2 separate regions of the Homo sapiens genome follow, and region 2 is linked to region 1. Evidence: promoter capture Hi-C in human tissues and cell types (Jung and others, 2019). All regions are on one chromosome and are shown on one strand. The core of a region is centred on a gene start or on the middle of the fragment in contact, and the rest is flanking DNA. Distances in the headings are between cores, read along the strand shown. Region 1 holds the start of KISS1 (KiSS-1 metastasis suppressor). Region 2 overlaps ZBED6 (zinc finger BED-type containing 6).

Region 1 (3,159 bases), core at 595-3,094:
AATCCACAAGGGGATATGGGAGTCCAGGGGAACCCAACCTAGGAGGACCAGGCAGATTTTTGGCAGGGGGTGGCACTTGAGCTGTTTCTGAGCATGAATCGCTGAAAGGTTTACAGAAAGTGTTCCCAGGACGGTGCTAAGGCGCTGAAGCAAGGGCAGGGGCTGAGTGCAAAGGGAACTTCAGGCCCTCTAGCTAGACAAGAGGATGGAGCTTTGCATGGAGAGAAAGCTAGTGACAAGGCTGGGGGAAGGGGCCCTGCAGGGGCTTCATCCTGGAGGGGTCTGAGCCAGACAGGAATGTGGGTAGATGTACATTTCCGGTTCTCTGTGCGGAAGCAGGGTGGTGGGCCAGGAAGGAGGGCAGTGGGCTTGTGTGGTTGGAGGGTGGTACTCTTTCTTCCGGCTCCCCTTTCCCCCCGAGTGCCTCCTTCCCACTGTGGATGGCACTTACCATGTGCGCCATGGGACAACTCTGCCTGACCCCAGCACACACACACACACCCCCCACACCACACACATACACCACACACACCACACATGCACACACACACCACACACATATATACGCACACACCCATACACATATACACGCATACACCCATACACACACATCATACACACACACATACACCACACACACCACACACATACACCCATACACACACATACACATATGCCACACACACCACACACGCATACACACCACACACATATACACACATACACCTATACACACACATCATGCACACACACCACACACGCACACACACCACACACACATATACACACATACACCCATACACACAACATACACACACACATACACACATCCATACATACACATCATACACACACATACACCACACATACCACACATGCACACACACCACACAGATATATACCCATACACCCGTACACATACACTACACACCACAGATGCACACACACGCCACACACATATACACACATACACCCATACACGTACATCATACACACACATACACCACATACACCACACATGCGCACACACATCACACACATATACACACATACACCCATACACACATATCACACACACACACACACACACACACACACACACACACAGATTCCACTGCCCAGCCCATCGGGGCACTTAACATATATGGTAGAAATGAATTATTTGGAAAGGGGCCATGAGTGGCCGACCTGCTGTAGACAATTTTTGTGGTTCCCTCCACCCTGGGGGGTTTGTATCCAGTGAGTGACAGAAATTCCAGGCATGGTTGGAAAGCTTCTGGAGTGAAGTGGCCCCTAGTTCTTAGTGGGTAGGTAGATGCCCTTGGTTAGGCTTGTATTTGCCATCTGTAATTTGGGGGGAGCTGCTCAGAGGAGCCCCATTGCTCTCAAGAGCCCCGAGCGGTTCCCTAGGTCCATCCAAGCGTGTCTGTGGTCTCTAATTCCAGCCACAGCATTTATTTATTGCATGTATTCCTTCCACAGCAAGAGAGAGCCCTCGGGATCCCCAGAGTGTTAGCTTCACAAATAAAGTGCGACTCAGTGTATTCGCCCAGGCATCCCAGGATAATCTGGCCAGGCTGGTAAACAGGAAAGATCAGTGTCTCCCTCCCCTGCCTTTGCCTGCCTGGATGCATCTGTCCGTCTTAGAACGGATTCCCTGCTCCCCTCCAGAGCATCCCCAGGTCAGGGCAGACCCCCTTCCCAGGGGTGGACACTGCAGTGTGCCTACCTTGCCTCAGTCCTGGCCTGGGCAGGAGTCTGGCGGAGCCTCTGAGGTGACGAGACCACCTGGCTGGGTGAATGTCCAGAGGGTGGGCAGCTGGGCTCCCGGTCTCAAGAGTTCTCCCCAGCTCCCTGATCACATCCCTTTTATAAAGCCCGGGGTGACGTCTCCAAGCACAGGCCCACTCTGCCGCCCCTCCCTCCTCCTCAGACCCTCCTGAAGAGCATGGCACCTTGGGAGGCCTCTGCCTCCGGGCTCTGTGACTGGAGGCAGCCTCTCCTCCTGCCCCACCCGAGCCCTCCGAGGCGGGACTTTCTCCTTCTTACCGGCTCTTTCCATCCTCCACACCCTCTTCCCACCCAGAGGACCCATCCTGCCCCCAAACAACGTGGAAATGGGCTATCTGAGGAGGGTGGGGAGAAGTGTCAGTGTGAAATGTCTTGTTTCCTCTCCGAAGAGCCACAGACACACCTAGTCTGAATTAGACGTAGAAAACGACAGGAAGAGGGGAGGAGAAGGGCACAGGCTGACCCAGGGGCTCCTCACATCCCATGCTCCCAGCTCTGAGGGAAAGCCAGGTCAGCGTGGGTCTCCAGGCGGCTCCTAGACTGCGCCCTGTGACTGGCACAGGGTGGTGGTGGCAGAGATTCTCTCCTTTTTCCTTCCTTCCTGCTTCCCTTCTTTCCTCGGTCACTGAGCGCTTCCTCAGCGCAGGGTTTTGAGGTGAATAGGCTATGGACTGGTCAGAGACCTTAGGTAAGCAACCAGCTATGAGCAAGGAGGACGAAATGGGAGCTGCAGAAGGTGGATGCACCTGGGAAGTGCCAGGGGTGCAGAGAGGGGACTTCCAGGTGGCAGCACATCCAGACAGCCTGCTTGGGGGCCCCACCTTCTTGTCTCGTGGCACCCACCACCATACTATTTTGTGACTGCTCAGGTACAGCACTTTGAGGACAGGGACAGGCCCCCTTCCCCCTGTACCCTTGGCACCCACTCCATTGCTGGGCACATACAGAGAGGGCCCTCAATAGATATTTGCTAACTGCATGCATCGCAAGTGACTTTTGTCTCTTTCTTGAGCCTGCAATAACTCTCTATACCCTTGGACAAGGGGCTCTCCAGGGCAGAGACTGTTTCTTCTATCAGGCTGGGAGTCTCTGAAGGCAGGGGCTATGTCTCTACCCTCAGACAGGACGCTCTCCCAGCACAAGCTCAACCTGGTCGTCCCCTAATGCTGGAGAAGCATGCCGGCAGTCTGCAGGTTAGCACCCCTCACTTGTCTGATGCTTACTGTTAACAGGGGATTGCAAACATATTATTATCACACCCATTAGGGCTGTTAAACACCAGGACAGAAATGATAGCCTATGAGGACAGCACTGACCCTCATAGACCAAAACTTCGCTGTGGGGATGATGTGTACGTTGGCCTGTCCT
Region 2 (3,159 bases), core at 424-2,923, 350 kb before region 1:
CCAAAGAGTTTTCCTTGAGGACCACTGCCTGGAACTTGCAGTAATCTAAAATTGAAATAGAAACAATTAGCCGGGCTTGGTGGTGGGTACCTGTAGTCCCAGCTACTTGGGAGGCTGAGGCAGGAGAATCACTTGAACCCTGGGAGGCAGAGGTTGCAGTGAGCTGAGATTATACCACTGCACTCCAGCCTGGGTAACAGAGTGAGACTCTGTCTTAAAAAAAAAAAGAAAAAGAAAAAAAGGAAAAGAAATAAATGTTACCCTTTTGATCCTTTTAATTGCCTGCTTAAATGATAGCTCTCTGTTGGACTGTCTTGATCCAAGAATAGAGAGATCATAAGTCAGTAAGAGATGAACTTCAAGTATAATGACATGTTTTTCTCCTGTGAAAACAGATAAAGTTAATAAAGTTGGTGAGATCCATGTGAAGACATTAGAAGAAATTCTTCTTGAAAGAGCCAGTCAGAAACGTGGAGAATTGCAAACTAAACTCAAGACAGAAGGACCTTCAAAAACTGATGATTCTACTTCAGGAGCAAGAAGCTCCTCCACTATCCGTATCAAAACCTTCTCTGAGGTCCTGGCTGAAAAAAAACATCGGCAGCAGGAAGCAGAGAGACAAAAAAGCAAAAAGGATACAACTTGCATCAAGCTAAAGATTGATAGTGAAATTAAAAAAACAGTAGTTTTGCCACCCATTGTTGCCAGCAGAGGACAATCAGAGGAGCCTGCAGGTAAAACAAAGTCTATGCAGGAGGTGCACATCAAGACGCTGGAAGAAATTAAACTGGAGAAGGCACTGAGGGTGCAGCAGAGCTCTGAGAGCAGCACCAGCTCCCCGTCTCAACACGAGGCCACTCCAGGGGCAAGGCGGCTGCTGCGAATCACCAAAAGAACAGGTAACAAGAGAACTTGGTCTCTAGTACCACGTCCCCACATAATATTCCAGAGGAGTGTTCCGTGGGATCTTCCTAGGAGTTGTTTGACAACCTTTCTTTACTCAGATAACGTTGAAAACACTGAATTAAATGAAGTTTTTCAGTAGTGCTATGTAGACCTATGCTATTTTGTTTTATTTTATTTTTGAGACAGAGTCTCACTCTGTCACCCAGGCTGCAGTGCAGTGGCATGACCTTGGCTCACTGTAGCCTCCACCTCCTAGGTTCAAGTGATTCTCCTGCCTCAGCCTCCCAAGTAGCTGGGGCTACAGACATGTGCCACCACACCCCGCTAATTTTTGTATTTTTAATAGAGATGGGGTTTCAGCATGTTGGCCAGGCTGGTCTCAAACTCCTCACCTCAAGTGTGATCTGCTTGCTTCAGTCTCCCAAAGTGCTGGGGTTACAGGTGTGAGCCACCATGCCCGGCCAACCTTTGCTATTTTAATGTGTATTTTGAGACTTTAGGAGCACAGATGGGCTTTATCTGTAATTTTATTTGTCCTGTCTTACTACTTTCATTAAATAAAGTTTTGTTTAACATATCTATCATGAAGTTGCAGCTTAAATAAAATAACTAATGATGTCTTTAATGTGAATACAGGGATGAAAGAAGAGAAGAACCTTCAGGAAGGAAATGAAGTTGATTCTCAGAGCAGTATTAGAACAGAAGCTAAAGAGGTAAATTTAAGATTATTGTATGGTTTTGTTCATGGCAAACAAAGGCTAGATAATTGGTAGTTTTACCTTACAATAAATTTCTAAGTACTTCATTCATATATTAGGTAAACAGTCTTTCTTTTTACTTATAATTTCTTATGAGAATTTCCTGTAGTTCTATGTATATCAGTATTCGCTGCCCTTTTAAAGTTTTTTGTTTGCCGGGCGCGGTGGCTCACGCCTGTAATCCCAGCACTTTGGGAGGCTGAGGCGGGCGGATCACGAGGTCAGGAGATTGAGACCGTCCTGGCTAACACGGTGAAACCCCGTCTCTACTAAAAATACAAAAAATAAAGTTTTTTGTTTAATTGGCCATTACTTTTTTTTAACTGAGTTTTTTCTAATGCTATGCATCATACAAAAGTTGGAAATTTTATTTTTTTTAAAACTGAACAAACCCTAAAAATATACAGCTCAGATGTAACCATCATTATCTTTTCCATGGATTTCTTCGAGCTTTTTCAGTCTTGCTCTGTTGCCCAGGCTGGAGTGCAGTGGCATGATCTCGGTTCACTGCAACCTTTGCCTCCTGGGTTCAAGCGATTCTTGTGCCTCAGCCTCCCATGTAGCTGGGATCAAAGGCATGCACCACCAAGCCTGACTAATTTTTGTATTTTTAGTAGAGACAGAGTTTCTCCATGTTGTCCAGAGTGGTCTCGAACTTCTGGCTTCAAGTGATCTGCCTGCCTTGGCCTCCCAACGTGTTGGGATTACATGTGTGAGCCACCACACTTGGCCTTCTTCGACCTTTTTGTTTATATATGCATGCATGTGAATTTGTTTAATGTTAAACCCATGTTTAGAACATAATGGAGAACTCTACAGTGTATCATTTTACAGCCTGCTTTAACTTTACCATGTTAATAATTCTTCAAGAAGTTTGTTTTTACTGACCACATGATTCTCCATTATACAAATACAGTCTTTTTCTGGACATTCAGATTTTGTTTTACACAATTTAAAGTAATATATTTGTACATAAATCTTTGTGCAGGTATTTGATTATTTAGGAATCATTAGTATTTGACTTAGAGTCATGGTTGTCTAGCCTGTGGAATCTGGGTTTTTTATTATTCCATACATCTGTAATTCTAATCTTTCATCTTTAACAGGGTATTGTCTATTTAACATCAAATAAAGAGCTTTTCTCTCAGATTCTGGATCATGTGAGATTCTGCTTAACTTAGATGTTAGCCTGGTACTTACATCATACAGGTTATTAGAGGTACCAGATTTTAATTCTGTCATTCAAATTTATCCACAGGCTTCAGGTGAGACCACAGGAGTTGACATCACTAAAATTCAAGTCAAGAGATGTGAGACCATGAGAGAGAAGCACATGCAGAAACAGCAGGAGAGGGAAAAATCAGTCTTGACACCTCTTCGGGGAGATGTAGCCTCTTGCAATACCCAAGTGGCAGAGAAACCAGTGCTCACTGCTGTGCCAGGAATCACACGGCACCTGACCAAGCGGCTTCCCACAAAGTCATCCCAGAAGGTG

What was found. The method cuts DNA at HindIII sites, captures the fragments that hold promoters and counts their contacts. A contact is called where the count stands out against the background at its distance.
Region 2: a fragment that was not itself captured here is called in contact with the fragment with the promoter of KISS1 in region 1 in 3 of the 25 tissues and cell types used here (heart right ventricle, hippocampus and liver).

Annotation. Positions count from the first base shown.
Region 1 is chr1:204,194,647-204,197,805 of GRCh38, forward strand. It overlaps KISS1 (KiSS-1 metastasis suppressor), which reads right to left and starts at 1,845. Exons shown (of 3, transcript NM_002256.4): 1 at 1,730-1,845. The HindIII fragment of the contact is 9,045 bases long and covers 1-3,159 here.
Region 2 is chr1:203,846,789-203,849,947 of GRCh38, forward strand. ZBED6 (zinc finger BED-type containing 6) reads left to right here. Exons shown (of 17, transcript NM_001395895.1): 12 at 396-899; 13 at 1,543-1,619; 14 at 2,923-3,159. It overlaps ZC3H11A (zinc finger CCCH-type containing 11A), which reads left to right. Exons shown (of 18, transcript NM_001376342.1): 13 at 396-899; 14 at 1,543-1,619; 15 at 2,923-3,159. Among named protein-coding and RNA genes, the nearest start is that of SNRPE, 13 kb to the right of the region's middle. The HindIII fragment of the contact is 5,303 bases long and covers 1-3,159 here.